Linked DNA regions of Homo sapiens: regions 2, 3 and 4 are each linked to region 1. The links are contacts of gene promoters, found by promoter capture Hi-C in blood cells and fetal thymus (Javierre and others, 2016). All regions are on one chromosome and are shown on one strand. Each heading gives the region's core, a stretch centred on a gene start or on the middle of the fragment in contact. The rest is flanking DNA. Distances are from core to core; before and after follow the strand shown.

What was found. The method cuts DNA at HindIII sites, captures the fragments that hold promoters and counts their contacts. A CHiCAGO score of 5 or more calls a contact.
Region 2: a fragment that was not itself captured here is called in contact with the fragment with the promoter of ALPK3 in region 1 in 1 of 17 cell types (naive CD8 T cells); the score reaches 5.5 in naive CD8 T cells.
Region 3: a fragment that was not itself captured here is called in contact with the fragment with the promoter of ALPK3 in region 1 in 1 of 17 cell types (M2 macrophages); the score reaches 5.2 in M2 macrophages.
Region 4: a contact is called between a fragment that was not itself captured here and the fragment with the promoter of ALPK3 in region 1, in 1 of 17 cell types (naive B cells). The highest score is 5.7, in naive B cells.

The regions. Positions count from the first base shown.
Region 1 is chr15:84,815,998-84,819,249 of GRCh38, reverse strand. It overlaps ALPK3 (alpha kinase 3), which reads right to left and starts at 1,894. Exons shown (of 14, transcript NM_020778.5): 1 at 1,655-1,894. The coding sequence starts at 1,797. RefSeq lists enhancers at 1-138, 2,266-2,796. The HindIII fragment of the contact is 9,413 bases long and covers 940-3,252 here.
Region 2 is chr15:85,116,547-85,119,669 of GRCh38, reverse strand. PDE8A (phosphodiesterase 8A) reads right to left here. Exons shown (of 22, transcript NM_002605.3): 17 at 1,831-2,029. Among named protein-coding and RNA genes, the nearest start is that of PDE8A, 140 kb to the right of the region's middle. RefSeq lists a cis regulatory region at 1,395 and an enhancer at 1,311-1,480. The HindIII fragment of the contact is 1,424 bases long and covers 956-2,379 here.
Region 3 is chr15:85,148,048-85,150,883 of GRCh38, reverse strand. No RefSeq gene overlaps it. Among named protein-coding and RNA genes, the nearest start is that of PDE8A, 170 kb to the right of the region's middle. RefSeq lists an enhancer at 1,015-1,184. The HindIII fragment of the contact is 1,624 bases long and covers 626-2,249 here.
Region 4 is chr15:85,079,666-85,082,775 of GRCh38, reverse strand. All of the region lies in intron 5 of PDE8A (phosphodiesterase 8A), which reads right to left. Among named protein-coding and RNA genes, the nearest start is that of PDE8A, 99 kb to the right of the region's middle. The HindIII fragment of the contact is 720 bases long and covers 1,166-1,885 here.

The DNA.
Region 1 (3,252 bases), core at 645-3,144:
CTTAAGCCAGCCACTTCTATCCTGCCTCTAGCTCTCAGGCTGGCACAAGCTTTGTGCTCATGAGGTGTACAATTAACATTTATCTATCATACAACTGCTCAGCCAGGCAGCAGCACTATGTCCATTCTCCAGCCCTTTTCCTAAAAGCCCAGATCCCCTGCCCTCCCCATTCTGCCTGGTTTTCAAGGCACTCTTTCCTCCCTTCCTTCATTGCTGCTGTCTCCAAGAAGGACCCTGGTTCCGCCTCTTCTGTTTGTTCCACTGGTATTGACAAAGGCCAAACACAGGAGGCAAAGCCCAGACAAGTCACTGTGACAAATGTGAGGCTCCCACAAGGGAGTCAGCTTCTCTAAGGACTGGAATAAATGTCCAAATTTCATTCTGGTTTATCTGTAGAGCCAGGAGTAAGAAAAAGGGGTATTCTTTCCTGGCAGCCAGGGGCCTTGTTGAGTCTGACTCAGTCACTAACATCAGTCCTCAGCCCTGCCCCAGACATGTGACACCATTTGACGAGTTTTATGCAGAAACCGGTTCCGGTTACATTTGAACTTTCCCAACTCCAAGGTCAGTAGGACTCAGCCAATTCACGAGGAAGTGCCCAGGACTTTTCCTGAATGTCCTCGATGCCTGTTTTTATGCTGTTTTAGGAATGGAGAACAAGAGGTCTCTGGACAGCCTCTTGGAGGAATGGCCGTTTTCTGCATAATACACAAGTCAAGTTCTCAGGCTATGAAACAACCACTATCTCAACACATTTCCCTTTGGAAAACAGACTCCAGAAGTGAAGGGAAACTGAGCTGCCCACAGGGGGCAGGAAGTGTCTGTCTCCATGGCAATGCGCCTGTCCACGTGTGCCTGTGTGCCTTTGATTTCCTGGATGCCTGTCTATTGTCTTTGTGTCTTTATATCTGTGGGTGGCCTAGCTGCTAAAACAAAGCTTCCACACCTCTTGAACTCTTGGAAGACCAGTGAAGGGCTCATCAGTTCCACACCTCCCTTGGCATTTCACTTCCCCAAACTGGACAGGGCACTTGGCTCCCTCAGAGCTGCAAGTCCTTAATTCCCAACATCTCCAGACAGTACCTCATCCCACCCCCTATCTCACCAGCCCCCACTCAGGTCCTGGGGAGGACCCAAGTCCTCGGCCCAGTAGAGGAACCTTATTTACAAAGGTTTATTTCTTCCTGGAGAACCTCCCCACCCTGAGCTAAGCAGCTCCTACTCTGGGCAGCCCCCCAGCACCCTCTCCCTGTCCCCACCAGTGCTCTCCCCCTCCCTTCCTGCCAGGGAGGAATTTCAGCCACTCTGGCTTTCCTTATCGCTAGCTGTGGAATCCCAAGCCAGGGAGTAGCAGGGTAGGGGGCAGGGGAGATAAGGAAAGCCTTCAGACCCCATGAAATCACTCCAAAGTGGAGCCTTTGTCCTCTCTTGAGCCTCGAATTGCCAGAGGCCTGAGGCGCATGGATCAGGAGGGGTCACAAGGGGCTATGAAAGCCATTCCAGCCCGGCCATGTCCCCAGGCCCTGGGCCTTGGGGCTGAGAGGGCTCGAGGGCGCAGGCCCAGCCCAGGCCTCCAGGGGCCAGGCCGCCCTCACAGGGACTGATCCCAGGGCATCGCCGGCCCGACGCCGCCCTGCCCCTTGGTGCCACTTACCTGGTCTCGGGCCGCACGCTGAGCAGGTAGCTCCGGCTGGCTGGGCTGGGGATCCACACGGGGCCGTCGTCCTCACCGTCGCCCCCCGCCCCCGACCGCCCACCCGCGCCCCAGCCCCGGCTGGGGGCCCTCCGCGACCCCATGGCACCGCCCTCCCCGACCGCCGGCCCCGCACTCGCCGCTGCCTCGCCTGTCCTCCAGGCCCCGGCCCCCGGGCCCCTGCCCGCCGCCGCCGCTCCCGCCCGCGGCTGACGCGCGCCCCTATTTATAGCCGGTGGCCGGGCCGTCGTCACCTGCTGCTGTCCCTCCCCTGGCCTGGCCCGACCCGGGCAGCGCGGCTTGGAGACGCCGGGGGGCGCCGGGGCCCATGTGCCCGCCCCAGGGCCGGCTCCGAGTCCGCTCCCTTGGCGGCCCTGGTGTCTGCAGTAGCGCCGCGTCTGGAGAGGCCCGGGAGGCCTCGGGAGGAAGGCGCAGCGGGTGTCCTGGTCATGGAGGACAGGCCCCTTCGTGGAGCTCCCGGGACCCGGCTCCCGGCCGGCCTGCTCATGTCCCGTGTGGCATATGAGGGGTCCACGAGGCCTGGCCGGGGCCAGGGGAGCCAGGTCAACCGCTGGCCAGCTTGGGCTAGACCGCGGGAGACCAGGGAGCCAAAGAACCAGCCCTCTTCCTGGCACCAGCCGTGACTGACCCTCGCCTTGCCTCGCCAGTGGCTGTTGGCCCAGCACATAGACAAGCCAAGCCACCTCCATTAGTGACCTGAGTCCCTGGGAGGCCGGAACCCCGTGGGATCTCTCTCCTGTCTCCCCCAACACCCCCAGTAACTAGCATAGATTAGGGGCTCAATTAACACTTCTAGATCACTCCTTCGGCCTCCATTTCTCAGCACCAGAGGGGGAAATGGGCTGAGTCCTGATACCCAGAAAAATAATCAAATCATGCAACAATTTCCAAGAACTAGTGCCAAGCACTGCCGAAACCTGGTCTAAATATTGGAAGTCCCCACAGACTTTTTTTTTTTTTGAGACAGAGTCTGGCTCTGTCGCCCAGGCTGGAGTGCAGTGGCGCTATCTCGGCTCACCGCAACCTCCGCCTCCCGGGTTCATGCCATTCTCCTGCCTCAGCCTCCCGAGTAGCTGGGACTACAGGCGCCCCACACCACGCCCGGCTAATTTTTTTCTTTGTATTTTTTAGTAGAGACGGGGTTTCACCGTGTTAGCCAGGATGGTCTCGATCTCCTGACCTCGTGATTCGCCCGCCTGGGCCTCCCAAAGTGCTGGGATTACAGGCGTGAGCCACCGCGCCCGGCCGGAAGTGCCCACAGACTTTTTTATCCATCCTTCTTTCTCCTATTTTCCTGAGAGCATCCAGAAAGTACCTGAAGCTAAATGGCTGTAATTGTTAGAAAGTGGGAGCAAAGGAGTCCAACCCTTCTGTTTTCGAAGCTGCACCCATCCCTACTCCTTTTGGAAATGGCTTTCCCCTACTCCGTGTGGTTCCAATGGCAACTACCTTGTTCCCACATGATCCCACTCCTGGCCTCAGCTGACTGCCATCAAACTCAAGCCAGGCTATTCACGGTACCCAATCTCCCTGACTAT
Region 2 (3,123 bases), core at 418-2,917, 300 kb before region 1:
GAAGTTTAGAAGTTCAACACATTATGTCCCAGTATAAGATCATTTTTGGAAATACCCTACAGACTCTTGAGATGTATAGCTAATAAATCAGCCTTGCAAATTTATTTAAATTGATTTAAATTAAAATTCAATAATTTAAATTTTAAGTGCGCAAATAGTATGGTATGTGAATTACATTTCAATAAATGTTTTTTTTTTTTTGAGACGAGAGTCTTGCTCTGTCACCCAGGCTGCAATGCAATAGCATGATCTTGGCTCACTGCAACCTCCACCTCCTGGGTTCAAGTGATTCTCCTGCCTCAGCCTCTCAAGTAGCTGGATTATAGGCCTGCACCACCATGCCCAGCTAATTTTTCTATTTTTAGTAGAGATGGTGTTTCACCATGTTGGCTAGGCTGGTCTCGAATTCCTGATCCATCTGCCTTGGTATCCCAAAGTACTGGGATTACAGGTGTGAGCCACCATGACATTTCAATAAATGCTCTAATAAACTGTTTTCAGTTAGCTCTCTAAATATATATTTGTATGTTGTCTATAGAGTAGTTTAAAAGCAATACAGCAAAAATTGGGTTCTTTATATGCTGAGCCATATTGACACAGATGTCCCTCTGTTGTTACTTGTTTTCATAATTTAGAAAACAGTCCCCTTCTCTGGACACCCTATTTTACCTACAGTCTGATTTGATTTTTTCTGGAAAAAAACAAAAAACAAAAACAGAAATAAGAACCAGAGGGAGCACGGAAAGTTCTGAGAAGGTTTACCCTTCAAGGTGAGGAATGAACACTTGTTCACTCCCTGTGTGTGCCAGATGTCATCTTCTGCTTTGCTCTCTGCCAAATGCTAGTCCCGTGATACAGAGGAGGAAATGCAGCCAGGAGCCACTTGCCCTGGCCCTGCATGACTGCAGTCATCTTAGGCCCCAGTCAAGGGAGCAACAGGTCAAGGGCAGAAGCTTCAGAAACTAAAGTGGTTTGGCATGGCCCAAAAGTGGCCTGTGACTGGGACAAAGGAGAAGAAATGATGAGAGGAGCTCATTGTTGAGGTGAGTGTGGAGAGCTGTAGAGTTTAAAGTTTAAATCCTGAGGGAGGTGGGAAGCTGCTCCTGGGAATGACAATATCAGGTATGCTGTTTCAGAAAGATCACATTGGCAGTAGGGTAAGGGCATTCCATGGGAGGCAGGGCAGGCAAGAATTCTAGTTTGGAACTGCCCAGATGCGAAAGGATTGCGGGGGGCCTCACTGGGACAGCAGCAGGAGATGAATCTGAGAACATTTAGGTGTGACAGGAGGCAAGGTCAGATGATCAACCAGATGTGGGGGGTTGAGGAGTGGAAAGAACCAAGGATGACTCTCGGTTTCTAATCTGGGTATCCGGTTGGATAATGGAACCCTGGATTAGGTAGATAACCCTGGGTGGGAGCAGTGCTGGGAACAGAGATGATGAACCTGACCTTAGAGCCCTGCAGACTTTCATGTACAGATGGAGGCCCTAAAGTGGGGATATCCAACAGTTACTTGGCTCTACTAGTGTACAGGCTTGGAGTGAGACCCCCAGAAGAATAGCCCTATCCTGTCCTTGTTAGGTTTCTCCTCCGGGACCAAATTCTGCCTCTTGTACCCTCATGGAATAGCTGGGATTATGTCATGAATTAACACATCAATTTCCCAAAGCTAATGTGGCCTCCTGCCTGATTCCTCGTATGACCTTGCCCTTCCTGTGCCAGGCTGCACACGTGAGCAGTCATGCTATGTATCTTAGTGGAGGCAGAAGCACTAGACTCTCCCCACTGCTCCTGCCCATTAAATGTGGCAGGTAAACAACAGCTCACCTTTATCCTCTCCTTGGAGAGAAAATAGGCAGTGGCATGAAGCACATCAGCAGAATGTGTAGAATTGTGGTAGGGATTGGAGGAATGATAATTGGCTTCGATAATTTGTAACCATGATCTTAGCGTTGACTCGGAGCAGTGTAAGAATTCACAGATTCCAAAGCGAGCAAACATTTTGAGACCAAGATAAATCAAAGGCCTATAGACAGAAAAAACCCCACAATATTAGAACAAAGCAAACAAACAGGCCAAGTGTTTAAGGCCTGAATAGGTTCCAAGCCAAATTTCAGAGAGTGCAGGGCAGCAAAGTGGAGATTGCTTGGGCTGTGCTGGCCTCTCTCTGGTGGGGCCAACCAACTCTGGTTCCACTTCTTGCCCTCAGGGGACCATGATGCACGGGTGAGAGCTGGCTGCCCACAGCAGCTCTGACCTCAGCCTCGTTGGGGCTCCCGATTTGTTGGGGGGAGTTTGCTCATTCTGTCCTTCCAGGTTCAGCTTCCTACTTGCACTAGTGGGTTCCTCAAAATAACCCTTTCTCCAGGCTAAGCTTGTACCACCTTGAACACTATCCTCTCCTTTGGACTTGCTGGACCCATGCCATTGGCCAGACATCCTGCCTATAAGAAAACATTTCCTGAAAATGTCATATAAGCCAGACACTGCCGTATGCAATGGAATTTTCTCAACACCCACCTTTCTGGAGGTGGGCGTTAAAAGTATGAGGGGATTTCCCCTGAGGTTTCCAGCTGGCCACCAAGTTAGGTTCTTACTTGAGAAATCACCTTGACCCAGCATCTGGCCCTTGCCTGTGAAGGCCAAGAAACTGGCTGTGTTGAGGCAGTATCCAGAAGTGATCACAGGACTTAAACTGACCTGCCTTAGCCCAATTCACATGGATGTAATGTCACTAGCATGTAAACCAGATGCTCAAAGACTCATGTGCCCAGGGAGTATTCTTTTCAACTCTCCTTGGCTGTGCTGGGAGATAGGGAAGTAGAACGTATCAGAAGGTTAACTCAAGGGGAGCCTGAAAAAGTCAGGGAGTTATCTTGGGGACAGGTCACCCAGACTGAGATGAGACCTGAGGAGCCATCCCATGGCCCAACCGAGCACACCTCTGCCTAGACACCCTAGTGGGCAGTCCTGGCTGGAATCAGCTCTGTGGACCTCCCTTTCTTGTGTGCCCAGCCAACTACCACCTTTGGTTAACAGCTCTTCTCCCGCAAGGGAAAAAACTCAAGGCAAAACCCCATTCCTGCTCCCACTCTCTGTGATCACACCCAGATGAGGATG
Region 3 (2,836 bases), core at 188-2,687, 330 kb before region 1:
CCAGCCTGAGTGACAGAGTGAGACTCCATCTCAAAAACAAACAAACAAACAAAACTTGATTTTTAAGGGCAGTTTTTAGGTTTACAACAAAATTGAGAAGAAGCTTTTCAAAAGTTTTTGAACTATGGGTGTTCCCCATACCCTCTGCCGTCCCCCATTAGCAACTCCCCCAGCAGAGTGGCACATTGGTTACAGCTGATGAACCTACATTGACACATCGTTATCACCCAGAGCCCCTAGTTTACATTAGGATTCACTCTGCTGTTGTACATTCTGTGGGTATGGACGAATGTATAATGACATGCATCTACCATTATAGAGTATTTTCACTGCCCTAAAAATCTGCTGTGCTTTGCTTCTGTGTCCCCTTACCCCATGGCAACTACTAAGCTGTTTACTGTCTCTACACTTTTGCCTTTTCCAGGCTGTCAATAGTTGGAATCGTACAGTATGTAGCCCTTTCAGATCGGCTTCATTCACTTAGTAATATGCATTAAAGGTTCCTCTGTGTCTCTTCATTCCTTGATAGCTCAATTCTTTTTAGTGCTGAATAAAATTCCATTGTCTGGATGCATCACAGTTTATCCATTCACTAACTGAAGGATATCTTGGTTGTTTCCAAGCTTGAGCAATTATGAATAAGGCCATTGTAAACATTCATGTGAAGGATTTTATGTGAACATAAAATTTCAGCTCCTTTGGGTATATACCAAGGACATGATTATTGGATCATTTGGTAAGATTGCATTTAGTTTTGTGAAAAACTACCAAACTGTCTTCCAATGCGGCTGTATCATTTTTGCCTTCCCACCAGCAATGAATGAGACGTCCTGTTGCTTCACATCCTCATCAGCATTTGGTGTTGTCTGTGTTCTCGAGTCTGGCCATTCTAACAGGTGTGTAGTGGTATCTCACTGTTGTTTTAGCTTGTGCTTCCCCGATGACATATGGTGTGGTGCATCTTTTTATATCCTTATTTGCCATCTGTAGATCTTCTCTGGTGAAGTCTTTGTGAAGATCTTTGACCCATTTTAATATCAGATTGTTTTCTTATTGCTGAGTTTTAAGAGTGCTTTGTATATTTTGGATCTTTATGTGCATTTTGCAAATATTTTGTCCCAGTCTGTGGCTTTTCTTCTCATCCTCTTCACATTCTCTTACAGAGCAGGTTTTTAACTTTAATGGAATCCAGCTGATCAGTTATTTCCGTCACAGAATGTGCCTTTGTTGTGGTATCTAAAAAGTTTTCAGTATACCCATGCTCACCTAGGTTTTCTCTTATGCTGTCTTCTAGGAGTTTTACATTTTATATTTGGGCCTATGAGCCAATTTGAGTTAATCTGTGTGAAGGTTGTAAGGTCTGTGTCTAGATTCTTTTTTTTTTTTTTTTTGTATGTGGATGTTCAATTCTAGCACAATTTAGTAAAAAAAAACAAAAACAAAAACACAAAACTGTCTTTGTTTCATTGTGTTGCTTTGCTCCCTTGTCAAATATCAGTTGACTATATTTATGTGGGGTCCATTATTTCTGGCACTCTATTTTGTTCCATTGATCTATTTATTCTTTCGCCCTACTGCATCTTTTTGAATACTGTGGCTTTATAGTAAGTCTTGAAGTCAGGTAGTATCAGTCTTCCAACTTTGTTCTTCTCCCTTAGTATCCTGTTGGCTATTCTGGGTCTTTTGCCTCTCCAGTAAACTGTAAAATCAGTTTGTTAAGATCCACAAAATAGCTTGCTGGGATTTTGATTGTGGTTACATTGAATCTAGATGAAGCTGTGAAGAAATTACATCTTGGCAATATTGAGTCTTCCTATCTATGAACATGGAATAGCTCTTCATTTATTCAGCTCTTCTTTGATTTCTTTCATATAAGATTTGTAGTTTCCCTTATAAAGATCTTGTATATATTTTGTTAGATTTATATATAAGTATTTCATTTTGAGGTGGGGGGGCTAACATAAATACTATTGTGTTTTTAATTTCAAATTCTACTTATTGTTGGTATAGGAAAGTGACTGACTTTTGTTTTTTAACATTGTACTCTGTAACCTTGCCATAATGGCTTATTCCAGGTTTTTTTATTCTTTTGGATTTTCTACATAGGTAATCATGTCATCTGCGAACACAGTTTTATTTCTTCCTTCTTATTCAGTATATCCTTTCTCTGCACTGGACTGCAGTCCAGTGTTGAAAAGGAATGGTGACAGGGACCTCCTTGCATTGCTCCTGTTGTTAGCAGGAAAGCTTCTAGTTTCTCACTATTCAGTATGATAACTGTGGTTTTTCATACTTGGGATAAATCCTATCTGGTTGTGAAGTGTAATTCTTTTTACACATTGCTGGATTCTATTTGCTAATATTTTGTTGAGGATTTTTGTATCTAGGTTCATGAAAGATATTGGTCTGTCATTTGCTTGCCATGTCTTTGTCTGGTATGTGTATGAGTCTGGCCCCATATAATGAGTTATAAAGTATCCCTTCTGCTTTGATCTTCTGAACCAGATTGTAAAATAAGGGTATAATTTCTTCCTTATATGTCTAACAGAATTCACAAGTGAACCCATTTGAGCCTGGCATTTTCTGTTTTGAAAAGTTATTAATTATTGATTTCTTTAATAGATATAGGCTTATTCAGATTGATTGTTTCTTGTGAGTTTTGGCAGATTGTGTCTTTCAAAGAATTGGTCCTTTTCTTTCTTTCTTTTTTTTGACACTGAGTCTCACTCTGCTGCCCAGGCTGGAGTGCAGTGGCATGATCTCGGCTCACTGCAACCTCCGCCTCCCAGATTCAAGCGATTCTCCTGCCTCAGCCTCCTGAGTAGCTGGGATTGTA
Region 4 (3,110 bases), core at 276-2,775, 260 kb before region 1:
TGAACATTACTCCCCCATTTCTAAAGAGCTCCTTGCTTTTTACCTGCACAATAAGTGGACAATACTCTACCTGGCTGAAGAGGAAGCTGATGCCTAAGAGGCAGAGCCTCTGCATATCACTATCTATAAGCCCCAGCCAGACCAATCTGGGACAGGGGTCCCCTTAAAGAGTTCCTTCTACTACCACGGTGAACGCAAATGACCCGTCTGAACTGTGATCAGGGTCTTGTCTGGGTGTCAAGCAACCTAAAAATCTAGCCCTTGGTTCGTGCCTTAAAAGCTGTATGATTGTATATGAGGCACCTAACATTCCTGAGCCTGTTTCCTCAACTGTAAAGCAAGAAAAATAATACTGTTCCTACCCAATGAAGGTCACCGAGAATAAAAAGACATGATGGGAGAAAGCATTTTAAGTACAAACTGCTGCATAAATGTAAAGAACAGCTACTGTCACCCCCACAGGGGAAGGCAAGACCTGTTGACCAGGAGCATGATAAACCTTATACCTATAGGCCAAAACAGAGCCCCTTTCTTACCCAGAGGTCTGACAGAGGTGACATGCCTGCCAGCTCCCACCGACTGAGAAGGGAGGAGTATGCTAGACCTGCTGTCCACACCTCCATCAGCCAAGACCCCATGGGAACACCCAAAAACACTGGACAGGAACCCACTTCTGATTGGGCAGGGACAGGGAAAAGAGATTTCTTGACATAGTGCTTGTGCCACTCCAGGAGACATGGAATCGGGGCCTTGAGATAGACAGGGGTCCTCAGTTCCTCCGCAGGTAAGATTCTGGGATGTGAGGGCTGTGGAGGGGATGTGAGGGCTGTGGAGGGAATGTGTATTTATCCATTTCCACAAATGGATTCCCATGCATGCAATCAGACTTTTTAATTGGTCTGAATGTTATGTATCCACCAAACTTTTTTACCCCAAAGGCAGAAATCAAGGTAAAAAAAACTAGCATGTGACCAAATGTACAGCATCTTGCTCCTGTTTGCCCCCTCCCTCAAAACTTTTGTTTTGCTATGCGTGTTTAAACACTGTTCTCTTTATCTAAACATCTCATCTTTCCTGCCCCTTGCCAACTTTTGTTTCTGTCCCAAGGATCCCACAGGGCATGGAGGGTGAAGAATCAGGTCCAGGGATCCTCAGAAAGCAAGCTTATTCCCTCTGCTTAAACAGCGGTTAGTCTCCTCTCCCTTAACCTTCTTCCACGAAAGGGGCTGGGACTACAAATCCTAGACTTCTAAGCTAACTTAACCTCACTTTCTCCAAAGCATATCACACCCACGGCTAGGACCTGAGCCCATCTTTGCTAGGCCTCTCCCAGTGGTTCTCAACTCTCAGCTGCATATTAGAATTATCTGCAATTTGAAAAAACACCAGCATGCAGGCCCCTCCCCAGACCAACTGAAACAGACTCCCTAGGGATGTTATTCAGGTGATTCTAATGTGCACCCAGCAGTGAGTCTACCGACTCAATGGCCAAATCCAATTGAGGAAGCTAGCAGGTCCTCCACCTACTTTTCAATCCTGAAACATGGCTAAAACACAAAATAGCTCATGGCCTTTCCTATGCCCCATCCCCTGTACCAGAGATATCATTATGGTGTTAGCTTTCAGATTCAAGCCTTGGCACCACCGCCTACAGCCATGACTGGGAGAATCCCCTTCCTCCAGGTCTAACTCTTCTTCTCAGTAACCTGAGCATCCTTTTGTCACACAAAAGTAAGAGACTCTGGATGAGATTAGTTAGCACTAATTAGTTAGTGGTCTCTGAGGACTGGTTGACCGCATGAATTCCTCACCTACAAAATGGAGAGCCTGCCACTACCTCTACATTTCCTAAGTCAGGTGCTTCTAAAGTGACTACTGTAAAGCTTTTTGGGCTTTTTGCATGGACGTGTCCTCACAGGGGCGTGCACCTAAAAGTGGTTCCATTGAAGTCTTCAGGGGGTTCCTTGATTTTGATTAAGGTGTGCAGGCTTGAGGCAGCAAGAGTGTGTGTGTCAGTTACTTTTCAAGTTAGCTCCATGATAACACAGTAATACTAAGAAAATATAAGGACCATGATTTACTTGACCTTCTACCAGGATGCTCTTTCTGGTCCACAGAACTATGCTGATAGACTTCTTGGGCAGAATTTCAAACACGGCAGTCACCAGGCACAAATTTCCAACAGTGCATCTATGTACTTTCAAAGAGACCTCAAACAAACACAAGCCTTAATGACCTCATGCGGCTGTAGGTAAGCAAATAACCCAAGGCAGAGGGAATAATCTATCCCCTAAGTTTCACTAGAAAGTGGAAGCTTCTAAGGTTCTTGTTAAAAGGAATAGCCAGTTTTGCGGCCTTAGTTGCAAAAGCAAGCAGCTTAGGGAGGGATGACATAAAGATCCATAGGGGACTTCTGACTTCCAACCTGGGACGCCTTACTGCTGGCTAAGTAAACTGTTCTCATACAATTTAACAGGAATTACTAGAGGTCAGGGAATGGAGGTAGGTGCTGATGTGTATGTATGTTGTGGGGGTTGTCCAAAAAGGGGGAAACACAAGAAAGCCACAGCTATATAATCAATAACCTAATGTGTGCTTTTTATATAAAACTGTATTTACATATAAACTAAAATCTTAAATTCCACCTCATCTGATATTAATATCAATATCAATATCTGTGTTCTTTTTGTCTGCATTTACTTGCTACCTCTATGTTCTTTTACTTAAGCTCCTTTTATCATGTTAAGTGTCTTGTAACTGTTATAGAATTGTACTTTTTCAACCCAATCTAACAGCCTATCTTTTAAAGGAAGAATTCAGCCCATTCATATACATTTGCTTTTATTCTTTCTTTTTTTTTTTGAGATGGAGTCTTGCTCCCACTGTGCAGGCTGGAGTGCAGTGGTGCAATCTCAGCTCACTGCAACCTCCACCTCCTGGGTTCAAGGGATTCTCCTTCTTCAGCCTCCTGAGTAGCTGGGATTACAGGTGTGCGCCACCATGCCCGGGTAATTTTTGGATTTTTAGTAGAGACGGGGTTTCGCCATGCTGGCCAGGCTGGTCTGGAACTCTTGACCTCAGGTGATCCACCTGCCTCAGCCTCCCAAAGT